Linked DNA regions of Homo sapiens: regions 1 and 2 are each linked to region 3. Evidence: promoter capture Hi-C in 16 types of primary human blood cells and fetal thymus (Javierre and others, 2016). All regions are on one chromosome and are shown on one strand. The core of a region is centred on a gene start or on the middle of the fragment in contact, and the rest is flanking DNA. Distances in the headings are between cores, read along the strand shown.

The links. Contacts are between HindIII fragments. The CHiCAGO score rates a contact against its expected background, and 5 or more counts as called.
Region 1: a contact is called between the fragment with the promoter of KCTD14 here and the fragment with the promoter of RSF1 in region 3, in 7 of 17 cell types (total B cells, total CD4 T cells, erythroblasts and 4 more). The highest score is 8.4, in total B cells.
Region 2: a fragment that was not itself captured here is called in contact with the fragment with the promoter of RSF1 in region 3 in 2 of 17 cell types (megakaryocytes and endothelial precursors); the score reaches 5.2 in megakaryocytes.

What each region holds. Positions count from the first base shown.
Region 1 is chr11:78,021,947-78,024,646 of GRCh38, forward strand. KCTD14 (potassium channel tetramerization domain containing 14) reads right to left here and starts at 1,330. Exons shown (of 2, transcript NM_023930.4): 1 at 1,214-1,330. The coding sequence starts at 1,303. All of the region lies in intron 2 of NDUFC2-KCTD14 (NDUFC2-KCTD14 readthrough), which reads right to left. It overlaps LOC124902723 (a long non-coding RNA gene), which reads left to right and starts at 597. Exons shown (of 2, transcript XR_007062795.1): 1 at 597-1,075; 2 at 1,588-1,776. RefSeq lists enhancers at 119-686, 687-1,256, 1,257-1,824. The HindIII fragment of the contact is 5,224 bases long and covers 1-2,700 here.
Region 2 is chr11:78,046,738-78,049,437 of GRCh38, forward strand. All of the region lies in intron 1 of NDUFC2-KCTD14 (NDUFC2-KCTD14 readthrough), which reads right to left. Among named protein-coding and RNA genes, the nearest start is that of THRSP, 16 kb to the right of the region's middle. The HindIII fragment of the contact is 2,295 bases long and covers 121-2,415 here.
Region 3 is chr11:77,819,438-77,822,137 of GRCh38, forward strand. It overlaps RSF1 (remodeling and spacing factor 1), which reads right to left and starts at 1,285. Exons shown (of 16, transcript NM_016578.4): 1 at 1,091-1,285. The coding sequence starts at 1,277. It overlaps AAMDC (adipogenesis associated Mth938 domain containing), which reads left to right and starts at 1,707. Exons shown (of 4, transcript NM_024684.4): 1 at 1,707-1,804. RefSeq lists enhancers at 1-639, 1-44, 640-1,612, 1,165-1,334, 1,345-1,484 and silencers at 675-764, 905-994, 1,585-1,744. The HindIII fragment of the contact is 10,465 bases long and covers 1-2,700 here.

The sequences.
Region 1 (2,700 bases), core at 80-2,579, 200 kb after region 3:
CACTTGGCCATCCGCACTCCTTTCTCTGACCCCACTCATCCTTCAGATGAATTCCTCTGGGAGTCCTTCGGGGTGGGTTGTCTCACTGTGATCCCAGAAAGTCCTACACTACTATACTTCCACTGGCCTGGCAGTTCTTCCCTTGCAATTCCCTGTTTCTTCATTGACTGTGAGGTTCCTGGCCAAGTGCTGTGTTTCATGCCTGTAATCCCAGCACTTTGGGAGGCTGAGGTAGGAGGATTGCCTGAGCCTAAGAGTTTGAGACCAGCCTGGGTCTCACCAACATGGCGAGACCCCATCTCTATTTTAACAAACAAACAAACAAACAAAAACTCTGTGAGGCTCCTAAGGGAGGGGAATATCCTCTGATTTACAGGAGCATCTAGTATTCTGTTCAAGGCCAATCTTGCCCTACCTGGCATCATGCACAGTGCCTTACACTTCCCCAGTAATTCATTCAGGCATTTATGGAACACCTAGGGTGGTCCTGGCACTAGGCATGTGGCTTTGTCAATAGCCAACAACAATGACGTGATCATGGCCCTATTAGAGAGAGCCACGCTGCCCTGCTGCTGGATCTGCTTTCTCTTCCTCCAGGTCTTCAGGATGACTCTCAGTGCAGGAGAGAACCCGAATGTTCTGCTCCCAGAGTGCACGCAGCCTTTTCCCCATCCTCCTCCCCAACTCCCCTCACCCAAGCTGGGGACCAGGCAGGCAAGCAGAGGGATTTGGGACCCAGCCAGAGGGCAGGGGCAGGCTGAAGACCCAGCCAAGGGGCAGGGGCAGGCTGGAGAGGGCTGCAGGTGAGGGAAAGATCCTCTGGCCGAGCTGGTTGGATGGGCTTCTCCCACCGGGAGCAAGGGAGAAGGTGGGGCAGAGGAGGAGTCGTGGGCTAGGACAAGCCGGTGGGGAAGAGACAAGGGAAAGGAACTAAAGACCCAATGTAGAGGGAGGAAGCAAAAGGGCAAAGAGGAAAGGCTGGACAGAGCCAAACCAGAAAGGGACACCGAGGCGCGAAAGGAGAGTGATCCCAGCAGGAGGGACGGCAAAGATTGAAGAGAGCGACCAGCCCGAGGTGAAGGGGGACAGCGCGCCAGAAGCAGGGGGCTCGGGCGTCTGGGAGGGACGGGCAGGAGAAACTGGAAGGGAGGGAAGAGGCGGAGGGAAGAGGCGGAGGACAGAGGCGCGGGGACGCAGCTAGCCTCGCACTTACCGTTGGCCGCCTGGGCCGGGGGGACTGGGGCAGAGGGGTCTGGCTCGTCATCCTGCCCACTGGCCGCTCCACTGCGCAGCCCTGCCACATGCAGATCACTTGGGCCAGCGGAAGTGCCCCTGGCTGCCCGCCCCTAGGTGGGAACACCGAGGCTCAAGGCGGGACGGGGCTGAGCCAGGCGTGGCTTGCAGTGAGACTGGGCCAAGTGCAGAAAGAAATGGACAGTCTGTCTATTTGGGGCTTCTAAAAGTTGTTAGGCCCTGAGAAGGGCTGACTTTGGAGACCGAGAAATGGAGCAGACCCCTTAAGGACTGACCTTTTGATATAGATTAATTTCCTTCCTTTTCTTTCTTTCTTTCTTTTTTTTTTTTCAGAGACAGGGTCTCACTCTATCGCTCAGGCTGAAGTGCAGTGGCGGATCAGGCTCACTGCAACCTCAACCTCCTGGGCTCAAGTGATCCTCCCACCTCAGCCTCCCAAAGTGGTGGGATTACAGGCCTGAGCCACGGCAACTTGCCTCTTCCTATATTTTCTTTTACGCTTAAATAAATTACTTAAACATATTGCTTGAATCCCGTTATTAAAGTTGACATTAGTTAATGCCCCTCTCTGGGCCTCGGAGTTCCCAGTAGTGAAATGGGGGAGGCAGAAGGAATTGACATTGACTGACATTGACAACCAGAGACTTTCTATTCCCTACAGTCCTAGGGAGTGAAAGATCCGCAACACCCATTTTACAGATCAGAAAACTGGCGCTCTAGGAGGTAGGGTGGTGTTAAAATGTAAAGTCTGAGGATCAACAAAACTTTTTTAAGAGTATACTTGAGTAACAGGCAATTCTTGAATCGGGGAACACCAGATGGAAAGAGGTTGAGTGTTCCCATGACAATGCATCAGAGGCAAATATTTATGGGGAGAATATGGAAGCAAGATATTTTGTTGGGGACAGGCATGGTGGCTCACGCCTGTAATCCTAGCACTTTGGGAGGCCAAAGCGGACAGATCATTTGAGGTCAGAAGTTCGAGACCAGCCTGACCAAAATGGTGAAACCCCGTCTCTACTGAAAATACAAAAATTAGCTGGGTGTGATGGCATGTGCCTGTAATCCCAGATACTGTGGACGCTGAGGCAGGAGAATCGCTGGAACCCGGGAGGCAGAGATTGTAGTGAGCTAAGATTGCACCACTGAACTCCAGCCTGGGCAACAAAGATTCCCTCTCAAAAAAAAAAAAAAAAAATATATATATATATACACACACACACACACACACACACACACACACACATATATATATATATACATATATATATATAAAATTGGTTACAGTTAAAAAATCTCCTTTTTTGGTTTCCTTTGTTGAAAAGTCCACAGCTACTTAATTGTATGTTAGTTGGCTGCTTGTGGTTGGCTAATGTTAAGTTTCGTTTCTGTCTAACATTAGCATTTACCAGAAATGACTCTATTAGTCAGGGTTCTACAGAGGGA
Region 2 (2,700 bases), core at 18-2,517, 230 kb after region 3:
TGAGGCTTGCATTTATTCCTAGAAAACATTTCTCACTTTTCCTTTTCTGTTGTTATAAGTACTTAATCTATTCAAAAATATTAGATGATGAATATATAAATATTCATGTAGCCATTACTAAGCTTGGGAAATAAGACCTAATGAATATAAAGTACTCATGTACGCTTCCTTTTTTCCCCTCCCTCCACCCAGATGGCTCCTTCAATTTGCTTTTTCATTCCAACGTTTAAGTTTGTGTTTACTACCTGTGTAGGTATAAAGAATATACAGATACATGAAATCATAATTTTGGGGGTTTTTTTGAGACAGCGCATTGCTCTGTAGCCCAGGCTGGAGTGCTGTGGCAATGATCACGGCTAACTGCAGCCTTGACCTCCTGGGCACAAGCAATCCTCCTGCCTCAGCCTCTTGAGTAGCTGGGACCATAGGCGCATGCCACCACACCCAGCTAACTTAAATTTTTTGTAGAGATGGGGTCTCTTTATGCTGCCCAGGTTGCAAAAATATTTTTTAGTAGAGATGGGGCCTCTCACTATGTCACCCATCTTGGTGTCAGACTCGTGGCCTCAAGCAATCCTCCTACCCAGGCCTCCCAAAGTGCTAGGATTACAGCCCACCATACCCAGCCAGAAAAATTTTAATAGGTATATATTTTATTAAATATACTATATCCTGGCCAGGCACGGTGGCTCATGGCTGTAATCCTAGCACTTTTGGAGGCTGAGGTAGGGGCATCACTTGAGGCCAGGAGTTCAAGACCAGCCTGGACAATGTGACGAAACTTATATTTCTTTTTTTTTTTTTTTTTTTGAGACAGAGTCTCGCTCTGTTGCCCAGGCTGGAGTGCAGTGGCACAATCTCAGCTCACTGCAAGCTCCGCCTCCTGGGTTCACGCCATTCTCCTGCCTCAACCTCCCGAGTAGCTAAGACTACAGGCGCCTGCCACCACACCTGGCTAATTTTTTGTATTTTTAGTAGAGACGGGGTTTCACGATGTTAGCCAGGATGGTCTCGATCTTCTGACCTCATGATCCACCTGCCTCGGCCTCCCAAAGTGCTGGGATTACAGGCGTGAGCCACTGTGCCCAGCCAAATTATATTTCTTGTCTCTACAAGAAATAAAAAAATTAGCTGGACTTGGTGGCACATGCCGGTAGTCCCAGCTACTCGGGAAGGCTGAGGTGGGAGAATCCTTTGAGCCTGGGAAGTTGAGGCTACAGCAAGCCGTGATTATGCCACTGTACTCCAGCCTGGGTGACAGAGTGAGATCTTGACTCAAAAAAAACAAAACAGGCCAGGTGCAGTGGCTCATGACTATAATCCCAACACTTTGGGAGGCCGAGGCAGGCAGATCACCTGAGGTCAGGAGTTCCAGACCAGCCTGACCAACATGGTGAAACCCCGTCTCTACTAAAAATACAAAAATTAGCTGGGTGTGATGGCTCACGCCTGTAATCCTAGCTACTCGGGAGGCTGAGGCAGGAGAATCACTTGAACCTAGGAGGCAGAGGTTGCAGTGAGCTGAGATTGCACCACTGCACTCCAGCCTGGGCGACAGAGTGAGACTCCGTTTCAAAACCAAAAACAAACAAAAAAATAAAATAATAAAATAAAAACAAAACAAAAATACAAGGCACCAAAGCAATGTAACAGGCGCCTGCAGTCTGAGCTAATGAGGAAGCTGAAGTGGGAGGATGGTTTGAGCCTTGGAGCTCGAGACCGGCCTAGGCAACATCGCGAGACTTCATCTCAAAAAAGAAAGAAAAAAAATACCATGGCATATAAAAACAAAATTGAAAGGGATGAGTGTAATAGGCACAATAATGGCCCCCAAAGATGCCACCTTCCTAATTCCTGAACCTGTAAATGTTAGGTTACATGGCAAAGGGAAATTAAGGGGGCAGATGGAGTTAAGATTGCTAATCAGCTGACCTTAAGATGGAAAGATTATCCTGAATTATCCAGCAGTACCCAATGTAACTGGAAGAGGGAGAACCAGAGAGGCAGCATGAAAAGGTGTTCCTGGCTTTGAACACAGAGGAAAAGATTACAAGCCAAAGAGTGCGGGCAGCCTCTAGGAGCCAGAAAAGACAAGGAACGAATTCTCCCCAGAGCCTCCAGAAAGGAGGGCAGCCCTGCTGACCCCTTGATTTTACGCTGGTGAGACCCATGTTGGACTTCTGACCTCCAGGATTATAAGGTAATAAGTGTCTGTTGCTTTAAGCCCCTAGGTTTGTGTTCATCTGTTACAACAGCAATACAAAATTAATACAAGGAGCGTGACCGGCAGCGAATCCGTATGGGTCTGCCGCAACCTCAGTTCTTGCCTCCTCAGCAGAAAGAATTCGACTGAGGCACATAAGGCAGAAGGAGAAACCGAGACAAGTCTTAGAGCAGGAGTGAAAGTTTATTAAAAGCTTTAGAGCAGGAAAGGAAAGAAAGTACACTTGGGGCTGAGTGTGGTTGCTCACGCCTGTAATCCCAGCACTTTGGGAGGCTGAAGCGGGTAGATCACGTGAGGTTAGGAGTTCAAGACCAACCTGGCCAACATAGTGAAACCCAGTCTCTAATAAAAACACAAAAATCAACCGGGTGTGGTGGCATGTGCCTGTAATCCCAGCTACTCGGGAGGCTGAGGCAGGATAATCGCCTGAACCTAGGAGGCAGAGGTTGCAGTGAGCCGAGATCGTGCCACTGTAC
Region 3 (2,700 bases), core at 35-2,534:
TGCTCCAGCAAAAGAACCAGCAGCAGCAGCAGGAAGTTTCAATGGGGCCGGGCAGAGCATGCGCCCTGCACCCGCGCGGTGGCCTTATGTGGAAGGAGCACCACTTGCGAACACCAATAATAGACCAGCGGCACCAGAGAGAGAAACATGAGCAACAAGCACCTTCTTCAACTGTTTCCCCCTCCGTCAGAGCCCCTCCTCCAGCTTACATACTAACCACCCCACCCTACCGTGCAAATGGGAGGGAGACGACTTCTTCGCCTAAGCCCGGCTGCCAAGATGAAGGGGGAAGGGATTGGAAAAGTGGGGAGATGCTCGCCTATTATTTTGGGGGAGGTGGGGAGAGGAAGGAGAACTATGGAGGAGGAATTAACCCTCTCCTCTCCACAGTGGAGCTGAACCGACTTCGCCCCCCTACCGAGAATGGAGAAGAACCCCCTCCCGTGGGGGAGGAGCAGACCTCCCCACTTCAAGGAAGGAGTTTTAGGGGTTAAAGCAGCCCTCGAGGGGAAGGGAAAAGGGACAAATCTCTCAGGGGAGTTCCCAACAGAGGGAGGGAGAGTTGAGTGTCCGCTGGCCCCCGCCCACCCAGGTGAAGGGAGATAAGGAGGTGTCCGGAGCAGCCGAGCCCAGCCTTCCCCGAGATGGTCGGGAAGACTGGTGGGAGGAGGGGAGGGAGTAAGGGTGGGGAGGAGGAGAAAAGCGCAAAGCTGGCCGGAACCTGCGCTCCCCTTCCCCCGCCGCCAAGGGGGAGACGGGGTGGGGGGCCGCCCTCCGCCGCGGAGAAGCAGTCCCCGGGGCTGCCGACCGGCACAATGACCCCTCCCCGCCTCCAGCCCACACCTAGCCCGCAACGCCTCCACCTCAGCTCCCCGCCCGGCCGAGTGGCCCTAGGGGGCCTCCGCCCCGCCTCCCCACTGCCCAAGACCCCGGGGGCTGGGCGGAGAAGACCAGCCCGGCGGAGTTGCGTCCCAGGGGGAAGACAGAGCCGCGGAGGCCCGAGCCGCGAAGAACCGGGGCGCCTGTGAAGAGCGGAGAGTAGCAGAGCGCCAGGGCCGCTTCCCGCCGGGCGTTCGGGCCCCTCGCTTACCTTCTCCGTTGCCGACGTCCGGCGGCGGCGCCTGCAGCACCCGCTCCAGCTCAGGGAACGGCAACTCAGGCAGGTCTAGCAGCGGCCCGTAGCGCTCCAAGAAGGAGCAGACTACGGCGAAGTTGGGGCACGAACCCGGGCAGCCCGGAGGAGCCATCACCGCCGCCGCTGCCGCCGCCGTCGCCATTTTGAACTGGAGGATGGAGGAGGAGGCGATGGGGGGGCGGGGGAAGTTGTGGTGCCGAGGGATGGCAAGGCAACCTTACAGACGACAGGAGGCGCTCTCAAGTGGGCTCCTCTGCGGATCCCAGCGTCTCAGGGACGGCTCCGCGATCCCACAATACATCGGCGGCCCGGAGCAGTCGAGAACCGAGTCAGACGGGAGACAGAGCGGCCCTCGGCGCCTTTCACTTTCCGCCCTCTTTCCGCCCCCTTCTCTCCTCCCCTTCGGGCTTGCCACTGCCTCGTGTGACAGGGGGAATGAAAACAAGGGAAGCGGGGCGGGGAGGCGGGCTGGAAGCGGGAGGGGCGGGACTTCTCGAGAACAATGGCCAATGGACGCAGAGGGGGCGGGGCCTCGGGCGCTGTTCAACTGCAGGGCGTATTCCCGGAGGGCAGTTGGGGAGCGCAGATCCCGAAGCAGCGCTGGGAGCGTAAGTGCGGGCAGAGCACTGCGCCGTTTGGGAACGCAACTTTGAGGAGACAGTGCGGTGGGTGAGTTTGCGGGGGAATCCTGAAACTGGGCCACGAGATGGTGGAGAGGTTGAGGAGAATTAATAAACAGAAAAAGGGAATAGGGCGGGGGAAAGCACAGTTGTGGGAGAAGGTTGGGAAGGGGAAAGGTAGAGGTGTGCCCTTAATTAGGGGCTGGGCTGGGACCTCGGTAAGATGTCTCTGTGGAAGTTTGCCGACGGGGTATTGCTCTCTGCTGGGGTACAGGAATCGCAGCTTTGCTGGAAAAGCAGGATCTGAGGGAACGGAACTCTGGGGGAATCGTCGGAGTGAGGAGTTGGGGCCCTGCTGGGAGAAGAGGATCTGAGGAGACCAGGCTCTGCTAGGGGGCCATGGTGTGAGGGGAAGGGGCTCTGTTCAGGGACCAGAATCGGAGTGTGGGCTGGGACTCCATTGAGAGGCGGAACATGACAGGAGACGGTGGAGCAGCGAAAAGTTTGTTAGAAGACAGGGTTCCACTTCGGGGCGGGGCGGGGGCAGTGAACATTCCCACAAAGAACGCCAGAGAGAAACTACCAATAATGTAAAATAGAATGTGCAGCCTGAGAAGCAGCAGTACACGTTATGCTTAGAAGCCTGAGCTTTGGATTCAGCCAGGCCTGAGTCCTAGCGGGGCTACTTCATGACACTGTGGAGGTTTCTTTATTTCTTTGAACTCCTTAGAGTGGGGTGATAATAGTACCTACATCATACGGTATTACTAGATAAATCACAGTAAAGTGATTAGCACAGTGCCGTAGCACATAGTGAGTACTTTAAAAATATTAGTTATCAAAAAAGGAGTTCCTATAATTTAGACTGAATTCCGCTATATTTATTTAGTCTATAATTTATTACTTTGAGAATTTTCTGAGTGCATTTAAAACTCAATGTAGTAC